Regions from separate parts of the Homo sapiens genome. Here regions 2 and 3 are each linked to region 1. Evidence: promoter capture Hi-C in 16 types of primary human blood cells and fetal thymus (Javierre and others, 2016). All regions are on one chromosome and are shown on one strand. Each heading gives the region's core, a stretch centred on a gene start or on the middle of the fragment in contact. The rest is flanking DNA. Distances are from core to core; before and after follow the strand shown. Region 1 holds the start of TBRG1 (transforming growth factor beta regulator 1). Region 2 has its middle 12 kb from the start of TMEM218. Region 3 overlaps HEPACAM (hepatic and glial cell adhesion molecule).

Evidence for each region. Contacts are between HindIII fragments. The CHiCAGO score rates a contact against its expected background, and 5 or more counts as called.
Region 2: a contact is called between a fragment that was not itself captured here and the fragment with the promoter of TBRG1 in region 1, in 1 of 17 cell types (naive CD4 T cells). The highest score is 5.5, in naive CD4 T cells.
Region 3: a contact is called between a fragment that was not itself captured here and the fragment with the promoter of TBRG1 in region 1, in 1 of 17 cell types (naive CD4 T cells). The highest score is 5.1, in naive CD4 T cells.

The regions. Positions count from the first base shown.
Region 1 is chr11:124,620,484-124,625,279 of GRCh38, reverse strand. It overlaps TBRG1 (transforming growth factor beta regulator 1), which reads right to left and starts at 2,416. Exons shown (of 9, transcript NM_032811.3): 1 at 2,047-2,416; 2 at 279-349. The coding sequence starts at 2,196. It overlaps LOC124902779 (a long non-coding RNA gene), which reads left to right and starts at 2,079. Exons shown (of 2, transcript XR_007062932.1): 1 at 2,079-4,796. RefSeq lists an enhancer at 2,270-2,339. The HindIII fragment of the contact is 1,322 bases long and covers 1,302-2,623 here.
Region 2 is chr11:125,121,093-125,125,888 of GRCh38, reverse strand. No RefSeq gene overlaps it. Among named protein-coding and RNA genes, the nearest start is that of TMEM218, 12 kb to the right of the region's middle. The HindIII fragment of the contact is 2,749 bases long and covers 1,123-3,871 here.
Region 3 is chr11:124,921,257-124,926,052 of GRCh38, reverse strand. HEPACAM (hepatic and glial cell adhesion molecule) reads left to right here. Exons shown (of 7, transcript NM_152722.5): 2 at 984-1,325; 3 at 2,043-2,324; 4 at 2,620-2,713; 5 at 3,235-3,308; 6 at 3,595-3,665; 7 at 4,613-4,796. All of the region lies in intron 1 of LOC107984406 (a long non-coding RNA gene), which reads right to left. Among named protein-coding and RNA genes, the nearest start is that of HEPN1, 4.4 kb to the right of the region's middle. The HindIII fragment of the contact is 3,150 bases long and covers 896-4,045 here.

The DNA.
Region 1 (4,796 bases), core at 1,167-3,666:
ATAATCTTAGTAAGATTATTTATTAGATGTGGCAAGATGGCTTTTTCAGAAAGATGAGTAGAGGAGCTGTCTCATCGCCATGGCCCAACATAACTTGGGTGTGCAGGCACCAATGCCTCAGGCTGTAAGTTTCTCTGTGCTTGATCAAGTGGCCAAGGGGCTGTGCGATACGCATCAATCCCACTGGGAAAAAAAGTCTCCAGAGCAGTAACACCATTATCAATCACCAAATCAATCACCAAAAAGGTGATGCTGAACACAAAATGAAGCCAGCTCACCTTCTTTCTTCTTTTGCTTTAAGAAATTTTTCCTCAAGACGAGCAATTTCATCACAAATAGCAGCATTTTCCTTTAAGTAAAAATGTGAATATAATAACATAAAATGAATAAAAAAATCACATTATTATGCTGGGAAGAGGATCCATATTTCAAACCAAAAAAGCTTGTATTACTGAGAAGAAGGAGCTATTCGACCGTGTGACAAACTATAAATAAATCCATAGATAAAGGTAGTCAGGTTCTACTATGGACAGGGTATAGCTATGTAATTTATTATCCAATCCGGGACATCTTTGAGTGAAAAGGGGGTACTATTAATGCTTATGCCAGAACAATACGGTGAACCAGGACTGTCCTGGGCAAGCCAAGATTAATGGTCACCCTAATTAGTATAGCCTTTGGCAAAGAAAAAGGCATACTGCTTAAATCCTTATATGCTTAAATTAAATACTATAAATATGAAAACTGTCTATTCCCAAGTGCCTCAACTCTTGAAAAACTTACAAAGCCAGTCTAACCCAAATAGAGAAAAACTGGACAGAACAAAATCAAATTTAGTGTGTAAAATTCTTAAACTTCACAATCTACTTATACGAATTCAAGTATTATCTTTTTTCTTTTTTTTTTTTTTTTTTTTGTAAATGATGACTCAATCTATCTCCCAAGCACCAATCCTGAAGGGAATGCTGAATCTGAATGCCCCCATAGGTGGAACTTCAAACTCTCAATGTTCAAAACAACATCGCTTTTTCTTCACAAAATCTTCATTATGTATTTGATGGAACCAATATCCTTGAAATAACATAAATTCCAAGCTTTAGGTACCTTTGACGTATAGGGGATAAAAGAAAGGGAACAGTCAATCAGATGCTAAGTTCTCTTAGTTTTACTTTTCTTGTTTCTCTCCAGTGCAAATAGCAAGCAATACACATAGCAAGTGCTGAATAAGTGCTTTTGGAATGTGTATTCTAATTTCTGAACCTTTCCTTATGCTTCCAAAAATGCTGAGAGACGTTCAAGCTTTTGGTAGAGAGAAGAGATGAACTGTTGACTTGGATGTGGGGGGACATTTGAGGACTCCACCCCTATTTCCAAGCACTGAGGCAAGCCAAACTATTCTAATATAAAGTTATGGCTGGCAAGCTATATTAAGTTTATTCACTCAATAAATCCAGTGCTTCTACAATAAAAGAAAGGAAGAAACACTTGGAACACTCAAAGGTTAGAGGGGGGAAATTACTGACAGTTTCATGTACCTCTTTGGGCAAAGGGTCAGTTATGGGGATTTGAGGTGCTCAGAAAATAGTCTGTGTACTGGAAGTCATAAAACGGAATCAGGTTTATCTAAGTTGGAGTCAGGGCTCTGACACAGTACCCTTGGGCAAATCATCTCTCTGGGCTTCAGTGTTCTCATTTTACAAATAATGCCTAATTCTCAGGGCTGTATCTCGAGAATCAAACACATTTCCTAGAGTCCTGCAGTAACAACGATGACTAAAATTTATTGGTATGTCTTTTACGCACCAAGCACTTTTCTTTACTCATTTAATATTCATTATTCTGCAAGACAGTTACTAGCTCATTTACAGATGAGGACACAGAGAAATTACGTAATTTGTCCAAGGACACAAGGCTAACAAGTAGTAACGTATACGGAAAAGCCAACACTGTATTAATACTGTCACACTGGGAAGGGGGAACAGCTTGGGGAAAGATTTTGTGAGGGAGTCTCCAGGAGGGGACCGGCTGAACGTGGGTCAGACTCACAAACACCGTGGCCTTGGCCGCTTTGCGCAGCCGCAGGTACTTCAGCCGGTACTTCTCATTCTGGCTCTTCTTCGGGAGCTTTTTCATCCTGGCCTTGCTGGACTGCAGCGGAGCCCGCGGCGAGGAAGCGAGGCCGTCCAGCAGGCTCATGGTCCAGCCCCGCTACGGGGGCCCCAGGACGCTGCCGGCATCGGATCCTAAGTCGGGGAGCGGGCGGGAGCGCTGGCTTTGTCTGTTCCGGGCTAGCGGAATCGGGCCTCTAGGAATCTAGCTCTCCGGGACGTTCCCAGGGCTGACCGCAGGGCCAGAGACACCCGCAACCGAACGGGCTCCCGGCGCCTCCCAGCACTTCCGTGTCTGTCTTGGAAGTAAGCCCTTCCCGGAAGTTACGTCCCGGTGTCGGCAGTGTGTAACTTCCGGGGCAGGGAGAGTAGGGTGGTCTGGGCGGTGCGATCGTGGGCACCGGGAGGAAAGAGACAGCTGGGGGCTAGTGCTGGATGAGGAGAGGAGGGAGGGCCGGCGGCCGTGTGCTTAGCTGAAGGGTACTATAGTTGAACCAACGAACTAACAAGAAGCTTACCAATGCGAGCTCTCATTCACGCTCCCCCGCTGGGCCACTGCGTTTTAATACGTTTTTCATGCTTCGTGCAGACAGGCTTTCCCAGACTGTAGGACAAAGTGAGCCCAAGTGCTGGGACTCTGCTTCTTTCCCTGCTTCGTTCCTTTCTGCAGCTCACAGAAATGTGTTTGCAGGGCCTCCTAATGCTATCATCTTCCCAGGAGCTGGGAACACAGTAGTGAACAGGAAGAAAGGCCTTGGCTCTTTCTAGTAGGGAAGATGAGAGATTTAACACGCAGTTTTAATACTAGCACTAAGTAGGCACTCAGTAAATGTTTGTCTAGTGAAACCAGAAGTGTATTTCTGTACATAATATGTACATGTATATGGTTCTAACTTTACAACCAAGGTCTATTTAAAATTAGGGAAGATAGAAAAATCTTTAGGGTGCGGTATTGGTAAGTGACCCAGGCTGGATGGCAGAAGGCTTGCTTGCATCTTCTTCCAGCGATGCCAATAACTAGTTCAGTAACTCTCTAGTTTTTTCTCTCAAAAAAAAAATTTGCTGTTCTGCTGTATTTTGTCCTTGCGGGCTTTGGGGTCTGACTTTATTTGTATTATTTATTTTCATATACATGTATCACATCTAGGGGGAAGAAAAGTGCTATCCTTTGTCCTAGTTTGCAGGCTGTTTTGGCCAATGGACTTTAGTGGGATTTGCATGAAGATATTTTTTGTTTCTTCTTCATTGGACACATTTCCTTACACTTACAAAACATTTCATTCGAACTTTAGAAATTTAGAAAATATAGTACAAGAAAGGTTTAAAAATCCATAATGCTACCACTTGGAATGAACTACTTTTACCATGTTAGTATATGTGTCTAATATTTTATGCATTTTTGTATAGGTTAGACAATACTGAAAATAAAGTTTTCTTTTTGTTCATTTACCATTGTATCATTTCAGTTTCACAAATGTTAGTATAGCTTCCTTATAAGCATAATTTTAAGTGGCTGGTTAATATTCCAGTTATGGCTATATTATATTTTGCATAATTATTTCCATGTTCTTTGACTTTTTGGTCAATTCCATTAAAAGCATATCTTTGCGTCCAAAGCTTTTTCCATATAGGACTGTTCAGAGGCTGGATATGTGTGCTCCACAAAGGTCATGCCACTGAGCAACTCATTCAGTCCTTATTTGTTTAGAAGAATATTTACCTAGTGCCTATTATGATACCACCTTTAAGAACCTTAATTTAAGAAGGAAAGACAGACAAGTAAATTGGCAATGTTAATATGGTATAATAAGTTTGTTTCAGAGGTAGGTTTTATTTTATTTGGCAGCACTCAGGGAAGGAGGGAGGAGATAGGAAAGGTTTCTTAAAGGAGATACATCTGGGCAGACTCTGAAGGAGAGGTAGTGGTTGGTTGGCCCAGTGAAGAACAAAGGGGGGCATGCTGGATGGTGGAGACAGCATATGCAAAGGCTCAGTATGGGAACTGCAAGTAGTTGATCAGTGTGAAAGATGTGTGTAGAGAGAAGCAAGAAGAGAGACTGAAGCAGTAAGTAGGGTTTTTTGGGTCATGAAAAGTCTTGTGTACCAACTGAAGAGTTGGACTTTGACCCAGTGACAATAGGAAACCATCTATCAGCTCTTTGCTTGTGTTAGGTAAACTTACCTGAATCTGTCAGAAGCAACACAACTTTTCTACTTAACTATACGAAGAAGGGTCTAAATGGCCTATGCAAAAATTCTTTAAAGAAATGCATAATGTGTAGCTCTAAAAAGAAATATAAAATGGCAGACAGCATGATATTGTGTCTGAGTGTGGTCTTTGAAGTCAGACCAAAGTTCCATTAACTACAGGCATAGGAATGGGAGTTAGAAGCTAAAATAGGGTAATAAATCAGAAGAGAAAGAAGTTCAATAGCACTTTACTGTCTACCCATTTGTAAGTGCTTGCTATTCAGTGATTAGCTGTAAGGGAAGGCATAGTATCCTCTGGAGTATTAAAAGCATACCTGGCTCCGTTAACAGTTGTGAAGAAGTCCATAGCCCATAATCCCAGCCCCTGGTGAAATGAGTTCCTGGTTTAGATGGTGAAAAGTGTATCTGGGCACCTGAAGGCTCCACTCACGGCTGAGACATGGCCCCAGCCTTGTTCTACTATGTCCTTACATCCTA
Region 2 (4,796 bases), core at 1,248-3,747, 500 kb before region 1:
CCAGGATGATCAAAATTGATTTCTACCAGGAGGATAATCCAGCCAGGGCTGTTCTGGGGCAGAAGACAGAGTTACCATGGGGCCACTATACTCTTTTTTAAGATTATTGGGGGCCAGGCATGGTGGCTCATGCCTGTAATCCCAGCACTTTGGGAGACAGAGGCAAGTGGATTGCTTGAGGCCAGGAGTTCAATAACAGCCTGGCCAACATGGCAAAATCCCCTCGCTACTAAAAATAGAAAAATTAGCTGGGTGTGGTGGTGCACATCTGTCATCCCAGCTACTCCAGAGGCTGAGGCATGAGAAACACCTGAATCTGGGAGGGGAATGTTGCAGTGAGCCAAGATTGTGCCATTGCACTCCAGCCTGGGCGACAGAGGGAGAATCAATCTCAAAAAAAAAAAAAGAAAGAAAGATTATTTGGTCTTTGGAACTAGTGATCTGCTCAAACAGAGACCCTTAGACTAATAAACTGATGAAGGGTAGAATGTCCGATGCACTTTGTTCCTTCTATGAGCTCCTTAAGGAGAAGAAAAATACATAGAAGTCTATCTGACCCACTGTTCCAGCAACCTGGAGAAGAGGTGTCATCTGCCATGTCAGTTTCTCATCTGGCTGTCATGCTGGGCTTCTTGGAACACTTCTGACCCCAAACAGGACCTAGAACAATGGATGCACATGGAAAGTGCCCAATAAATACTCGTCGACTTTAATGAAAAAGTAGTTTTAGCATTCTACAATATCTCTGTGGGATTCAGAGAACTCTTGCTCTGGTGTAGAGGCTAAAAGACACAGAAAAGGAACTAAAATGAGTTTGGCACTGAGACAGAGTAAAGAAGTGTCTATAGCCTGGCGTGGTGGCACATGCCTGTAGTCCCAGCTACCTGGGAGGCTGAGGCAGGAGAATCGCTTGAACCTGGGAGGCGGAGGTTGCAGTGAGCCGAGATCACGCCACTGCACTCTAGCCTGGGTGACAGTGCAAGACCCTGTCTCAAAAAAAAAAAAAAAAAAAAAGGAAGTGTCTAAACATGAGCTAGAGATCATGTCTTCCTGTAACATCCCAGATTATCCACATGCAGTGACTCAGGAGCTAATGTTGGCAGACAGAAGAGAATGAAAGCTTATTTCTAAGACTCTGAAATCAGTGGAAGTGCTCCATCTCTATGATCCAAGGAACACCCAGGCCTATTTCTGACAAAGAGAAAAAAGGAAATAAAAATTCTTGCTCAGGAAACTAAAAAATTTTTGCAGAACTGAAGAACTTGCTGTTTCATAGCTTTAGCTAAACACGTCTAGCTTGATTATCAAATATTAGAATTGGGAGAAACAAGCACTGATGCAAGTAAAAGAATATTCTGCTGCTGATTTAAAGACAAGTGAATCGCTAAATATTTTTATTAGCAGCAAATTTGCTGCTTGCTGGAACTAATTTCACGCCCTGTAGATATGGTGCTTAAGTTGGAAATGGCGTTAAATTGCTCTCTCCTTGAGGCGGGTAGGATTTCTGGTGGCAGCAGCCACTAGGTGGCACCGACAAGGTAGCTCCTCAAAGATAGGCAGCTTTGGAACCAATGATAGGAAAGTCCAGAGGAAGTCCTGCCTTACATTTCCCTTTCTCCTTCCAAAGAAAAGCCCGTGCTCCAGATAGCAAAATCTTTCAGAAAGGAAGTTGCCTAGAAAGGAACATTACTCCTAAGGGTCTTGAATTTCCCAGTTCAGTCTTTTCTCTAAGTTCGTATAACACTTTCAGTTAGCACGTCCAATTTGGCAATCAGTTAGAATTTATAATTTCTTGCATGTTAGCACTATCTCTTCAACCACACCACAGCTTCTAGAAAGGACAGGTTACATTTTATTGCCAGTACTGGAGCCCAGGTGAGCAAACAGTGTGTATAACTTGCGGGCTGGGGAGCTAGACTAGAAGAACTGAGGCAGAGACAGCAACACAAAGGATGAGACCAGGTTAGATCCAAGGCAGGACAGAATGCAGAGGTCACAGCACAATTGGGCAACTGAAATCAGGTGGGAATTCCAAAGCAGAAGCAAATCCAGGACTGAGGTCAAGGAATTGCCGTGGCTCAGAATCCAGTAAGTGAGCCAAAGTCAGAGGACACGTTAAATAATAAAGGTCAGAGCAAGCTGTGGGTGGACAAATAAATCAAGGGAATGCAGAACCCAGATGCCTAAGGGAAAAATAAAGCCAAGAGGCCAACAGGTCAAAGTGAAAGTCAGGAAAAACATAATAGCAGGGCAAAACACACACAAAAAGTTTGACGTACTCGTTAATCAGATGTTTAGTGGTCAATTCATGCTAGAACCAAAGTGGATTCATTAAGAATAAGTTTTGCTAAATTGAACTTATTTCCTTGTGCAATAGAGTTATGAAGTTGATCAATCTGATTGTGTTATTTACTCTCCTGCTTAAATACTTCTGACTTAGCTAAACCCTTCACCTACAGAATAAAGCCAAAATTCCTTATCATAGCATTCAAGACCCTTCACACACTTTTCAGCTCTTGACACTCATTTCCCTGAACCTGGTCCTTAACTCACACTAGAATATTTGCTATTTCTGAATCATGCCAAAGACATTCACTTTTCTATGCTTTGCTTCTCCTATTTCTCCACTCTGGAATTTCTTCCTATCTCCATTCTCTACTTATCTCACAAAAACCCTATGTATTTTCTTTTCTTTCCCTTTCTTTTTTTTTTTTTTTTTGAGACAGGGTCTCATCCTGTCACCCAGGCTGGAGTGCAGTGGTGTGATCTCAGCTCACTGCAACCTCTGCCTCCTGGGTTCAAGCGATTATCATACTTCAGCCTCTGAGTAGCTGGGATTATAGGCACATGCCACCATACCTGGCTCATTGTTTTGTGTTTTTAGTAGAGACAGGGTTTCACTATGTTTGCCAGGCTGGTCTTGAACTCTTGACCTCAAATGATCCACCTGCCTCCCAAAGTGCTGGGATTACAGTCATGAGCCACCATGCCCGGCCTAAAAAAAACTCTGTATTTTCAAGGCTCAGTCAAATGTCACTTTTTTGTGTGAAGCCCTCCTTTCTCTTTCTGCACAATGAAGAATTAATCTCCTTTTTCTCTAGGTTTTCAATATACTTTGTTTATACTGCTACTGTATAATATAATACATATGAGATGATACATTATCTATTATATTGTATATTTCTATCTATCATCTATATCTATCCCTTTAATGCAAATTAGAGGTAACACATACATTAACTATACCTGTATTAATTTGGATCTGGTGTTTATATGTCTGTCGCCTCTGCTAGATGTCATCTCTTTAAGACAAAACTAATATCTTGGTCATTTTTGTTTCCACAACACCTAACAAAGAACCTAGAAGATAGGAGACCAACCAATATATGTTTATTGATGTGAATGAGAGGAAATACCAAATATGATGTAACTTCATTTAAACAGAATATTTAATAAATCTCTCAGGATTTCAACAGAATGTTTAATAAATCTTCAACATTGTGAATAATGTTGTACAGTGCGTCATTAGGAAAACTGAAGCTGCCTGAACACATACTGGGAGGAGGTCTCCAATGCTACCAAGTTCTATCCAAGGCAGCATTTTTATTAGTGACTTGGATTAAAACATACAAAGAATTTTTATCAGATGTGAAATGAGACATACTGATATCATAGGAAAGAAAAATAAGACTTTAAAGATGAGTCTAACTGCCTCAAATGTTGGGCTCCAACTGACAAGGTAAAATTTAAATAAGTGTAAAGGCCTACATGTAAATTTAAAAAATAAATTGCACATACCAAGTATGGTGGAGATTTGACATGGCAGCAACTAATGTGCAGAAGAGTTAGATGCTTTGGTTAATCAAAAGCTTTAAAAGCAGTGAGATGTGACCAGTAACAATCTAAGGACATTGGAATCACTAATGGTCATAGGCGTCCAGCTCAGAAGAAGCATCGTAGTAGCATCACTGCACTTCCTGCCTTTCAGGGCCGATTTAAAGTATTATGAGCAATTCTACCACAAGATTCTAGAAGATACATTAATAAAGCACAGTTCATCCAGAAAACTGTGACTAGAATGGTAAAGGAGTCTAGAAACCATGAAATAGACAAAGAATGAGGGAGCTCTGTGGAAACCTGGACACTTGAAAAACTGAAAACTAAGGGAAGGTTTGAGAGGCGTCTTCATGTATTTTTAAATGGCCTTTTATGTGTTGCTACAAATGGTAAAACTAGACAGGAAGAGTAGGAATTGTGAGGAGACAGAGTTTGGCTCAGTGTAAGAAAGAACTTTCTAAAATTTCTGGTCATCCAACAGTGAAGTGGGCAGCTTTGGGGGGTTGGGAGCTCCCCAGCCTTGAACATGCTCAAGCAGAGGTCAAAGACTAGATAAGCGATTCAAGGAAAAAGAGGTTTTTTGTTGTTTTGTTTTGTTTTATGAAGCATAAATACCCTCCTTTGTAAAATCTTTCAGTGGCTCAACAGAATCTGCAGGATAGTGTCTAAATTCCTTATCATGTCATTTAAGCTGTTGTGATCCAGATCCCAACGACCTCCTGCCTGATCATCTGCCTCTACTGCCTCCCCTGCTTTCAGCCCCAGTACACCCCATACCAAACACATTCCACGCTGCTTGCCCAGCACCTGTTCTGCCATGCTCTCTCACACCACTCAGTGTTGGCACATGCTATTTCTTGTGCCTGGAACCTTTTCCCACTTGCTCACTTTGGCTAATATGCATTCATCCAGAGAGGCTGTGTCACCTTGGAAATGTCACCTTGGAAGCCATCCCCAAG
Region 3 (4,796 bases), core at 1,221-3,720, 300 kb before region 1:
TTTTTTTTATTTTTAGTAGAGACGGGGTTTTGCCATGTTGGCCAGGCTGGTCTCGAACTCCTGACCTCAGGTGATCTGCCCATCTTGGCCTCCCAAAGTGCTGCGATTACAGGCGTGAGCCACCGCGCCCAGCCTTGTTATTATTATCCTTATTTTACAAATGAGAAGAATGAGTACCCAAATCCACATAGCCAGTAAGAGGTAGAGCCCAGCATGAAAAAGCTTTTTCTGATTCTAAGCTCTTTGTTCTACCCATCGCAAATCCTTCTTCTAGGGGTACAGATTGGGCTGGAGTTTGGGTGAATTCCCAAAACCACCTTACTAGTTGCAGGACTATTCTGCACTGAGTGAGCCTAGTAAGATGCTACATGCATCTGCAAAAAAAACGGGAAGAGGCTCTCGGTATAACTAGAAAGTGGTCTTCAGGCCCCTAAACTTTCCCTTTACTGGCACTGTCTCACGACCCGCTCCTTTCTTTGTGAATCTGTGTTCCATGCTTTCTCCATCTCCTCACCCTCCCAATCCCCAATCAAGAAGATCTGACAAATTCACCCAGAGGTCTAATGACCTATAAGCTTCATAGGGGTAGGGATTTTTGTTGGCTTTGCTCATTGCTATATCCTAAAGACATAGAAAAGTGTCTGGCAGATAGGAGATGTTCAATAAATATTTTTATGAATGGAGCGCATAGGGTGTGGGTGAGCCACAAGAGAAAGGCAATAGACAAAGTGCCAGAGAGGCAGAGGGCTAGGTGGAAAAAGCATTGAAGGCCATGAGATGGCTGTGAGAGAGAACAAAGGGGCAGAAGTGCACAGAGCTACTGTGGGGGAGGAGATAGCACCCAGGCTTAAGAAGCCAGGATTGGCAGGGAGTGAAGAGCCAGAGAGGCGAAGCTTTGGGAGATCAGAGGGCTTAAAGTTGGGAGTGGGCTAAGGAGCCCAGGGCCTGATGCTTCCCTCTTCCTCATGGGCCTCTGTTCACAGACCCCCTGGAGGGGGTGAACATCACCAGCCCCGTGCGCCTGATCCATGGCACCGTGGGGAAGTCGGCTCTGCTTTCTGTGCAGTACAGCAGTACCAGCAGCGACAGGCCTGTAGTGAAGTGGCAGCTGAAGCGGGACAAGCCAGTGACCGTGGTGCAGTCCATTGGCACAGAGGTCATCGGCACCCTGCGGCCTGACTATCGAGACCGTATCCGACTCTTTGAAAATGGCTCCCTGCTTCTCAGCGACCTGCAGCTGGCCGATGAGGGCACCTATGAGGTCGAGATCTCCATCACCGACGACACCTTCACTGGGGAGAAGACCATCAACCTTACTGTAGATGGTAAAGCGCTCTGGCAGGGAAAGAGGCAAGACTGGCAGGTGGGACTAGGGAAAGGTCTGCCCAGCGCACCAGCTAGACTGAGGGAAAACCAACCCAAAAGGCACTTGGGAGCTGAGAATGAGGCAAGTGGACATTAGAAGTTGGCAGACAGGCACAGCACAGCTAACATGTAGAGTGATTGCCATGTGCCAGAAACTATTCTAAGTGCTTTGCATATGTTGACTCATTTAATGCTTATAATAGTCTGGTGATAGTTCATATCATTATCCTAATTTTGCAGATGAGGAAAGTGAGCCACTGAAAGGTTGAATAACTTGCCCAAGGTCACACAGCTAGAAGTGATAGAGCCAAGATTTGAACCTAAACAGTTGGACCTAGGCTTAGCCCAACTGAAATATCTTCCTGGCTGGGTCAGTTTAAGACATTAAAGCCCAGGGTTCATGGCAAGGCATTTGGAAAGAGGGAATGAGGGCAACACCATGTCTGCATTGTTCAGCATTGTACCCGCCATGCCTAATTGGTGCTCCATAAATAGTCAGTGAAACGAATGAATAAGCGATGGGAAAGAACTGGACTTAGGATGTCTGAAGTCTTCTCAGCCCACAGATTGAGTTGGAAGGTAGTGTTAAAGGTGTGTTGGAAGGCAGGGAGCTAAAAAGGGGAAGGGAGACACTTCTTAGCCAATGACTTACAGGCTCCCCCATTCCTGCGGCTCAGTGCCCATTTCGAGGCCACAGGTGTTGGTGGCTTCAACCACTGTGCTGGAGCTCAGCGAGGCCTTCACCTTGAACTGCTCACATGAGAATGGCACCAAGCCCAGCTACACCTGGCTGAAGGATGGCAAGCCCCTCCTCAATGACTCGAGAATGCTCCTGTCCCCCGACCAAAAGGTGCTCACCATCACCCGCGTGCTCATGGAGGATGACGACCTGTACAGCTGCATGGTGGAGAACCCCATCAGCCAGGGCCGCAGCCTGCCTGTCAAGATCACCGTATACAGTGAGTTTCCCCGCAGGCTTTCCTTTAGTACTCAAAGCCCCAAGAGGCAGGTGACCATGAGGGACTGAGGACATCCCAAAGAAATGTCACTGGGGGGAGGGGAACAGAGATGGGCCAACTATCCATGGAGGACACCAACAGGTAGCCAGTGGGTTCTGTACAAGCTCCACCACCAGCATCAGCCAGGCATGCAGCCTGGGGCTCCCCCTCTCTTCCATCCATGGCAGGAAGTTCTGCTCACCACATCTTGCCCCTTTGAAGTCCCTCCTGCCTCTCTGCTTCTCTCTCTCCCTAGGAAGAAGCTCCCTTTACATCATCTTGTCTACAGGAGGCATCTTCCTCCTTGTGACCTTGGTGACAGTCTGTGCCTGCTGGAAACCCTCCAAAAGGTCTGGGTAACTCTCCTGAGCACCTGAGTCCTTCAATCCATCCCAAACCTAAGCCCCATTATTTTCTTAAGTCTCTTTAAATGCCTTTCCTCCCAGGGTTTTGCATCTCTTTCCGAGAGATCCATTCTTCCATTGTGTATGCACCAGCATCTTGTGCTCCAAAGCCCCCACAACCCCAGCACCAGTAACAATAGGTTTTTTCACTGGCCAACCACCTTTTTTGGGACCAGGCACTGTGGCTGTGGTTAGCCTGCTACCTTTTAAGTATGATTATCTGTAGTTTACAGATAATGACACTGAGACTCGGATTGGTTAAATGACTTGCCCACAGTCACAACGCTAGTGACAGACTCAAGGTGCAAACCTAGATGTGATTCCTTCCAAAGCTCATGAACTGTACCCAGCCCATCTTCCTGTCACAAGGCCTCTTTTATGGCCATCAGATCCCTCCCTGTGTCCCCACTGGATCTTCTACTCACATTCAATAATTCGGCTCATAGTGGGGCTGAATTGATTCACAGGAAACAGAAGAAGCTAGAAAAGCAAAACTCCCTGGAATACATGGATCAGAATGATGACCGCCTGAAACCAGAAGGTGAGCTCCCAGCCACCCAATCACCCATCCCATCAACAATCAGATCAGTGGGCTGCTGGGAAAAGGCAGAACTGGGCGACAAGGAAAACAGCTCTGCAGGGACCCTTCCCCCACCAACTGCACGAAGACTGCAGAGGAGGGAAAGGTTTGGCCAAGGTAGGAGCCAGGATATTCAGATATGTTGGTGGAGGTTGTGGCGGGCCATTCGGGAAGCACAGAGAGTAGGTGCCGGCTGGTGGGGAGAGTCTGTACCTGGGCCAGCCACCCGCTTCTCTCCCCTGTGCAGCAGACACCCTCCCTCGAAGTGGTGAGCAGGAACGGAAGAACCCCATGGCACTCTATATCCTGAAGGACAAGGTGAGCGGCTCTGGACTGGGTGCCCAGAAACATGCAGTGATCCCCTCCCACATGCCTGATGCTAGGGAGCCATACTATATTCCTATCCCTTTATAGCAGCAGTCCCCAACGGTTTTGGCACCAGGGACTGGTTTCAAGGAAGAAAATTTTTCCATGGATGGTGATGCGGGTGGTTTCAGGATGAAACTGTTCCACTTCAGATCATCAGGCATTGGATTCTCTTAAAGAGCGTGCAACCTAGATCCCTCGCATGCTCAATTCACAATAGGGTGTGTGCTCCTACGAGAATCGAGAATCGAATGCAGCCACGAATCTGACAGGAGGCGGAGCTCAGGCGATAATGCAAGCCATGGGGCATGTCTGTAAATACATATGAAGCTTTGCTCTCTGGCCTACCGCTCACCTCCTGCTCTGCCGCTCCCTTCCTAACAGGCTATGGACCAGTACCAGTCCTCGGCCTGGGGGTGGGGACCCCTGCTTTATAGTACTCAGAATAACCCTGTGAAATATTTGTGTCATGCACATTTTAGAGATTAGAAAAAACAAGGCTGTGAGATTAAATGACTTGCTCAGGATTAAACAAGTCAATGAGTGGCAGATCTAGGTTTCAAACCTAGGTCTTTGGACACCAGTTCTGGTGATTTCCCCAGTATTCCACAACTAACTGTCCCAGGCTGTCCACGACGGGTGGAAAGAGGAGAGTAAAGGGGAAAAGCACTCAAATCATCGCATTTCAACATTTACTTAACACCTATTATGTGCTAGGAGGCCCCATGCTCAGTGTGGAATATCGCCAGGAAAACCAGACCTGTCTGCAGCCTTCCAGGAGGTGGGCGTGCAGAGGGAAACTAGGTCCCTCCCCTCGGAATTCCAGCAAGCTCTAACACCAGGCGCGCTCCCAGGCTGGGCTGACTGTCCCCTGACCCCTGCGGCGCGTGTCCTTGCAGGACTCCCCGGAGACCGAGGAGAACCCGGCCCCGGAGCCTCGAAGCGCGACGGAGCCCGGCCCGCCCGGCTACTCCGTGTCTCCCGCCGTGCCCGGCCGCTCGCCGGGGCTGCCCATCCGCTCTGCCCGCCGCTACCCGCGCTCCCCAGCGCGCTCCCCAGCCACCGGCCGGACACACTCGTCGC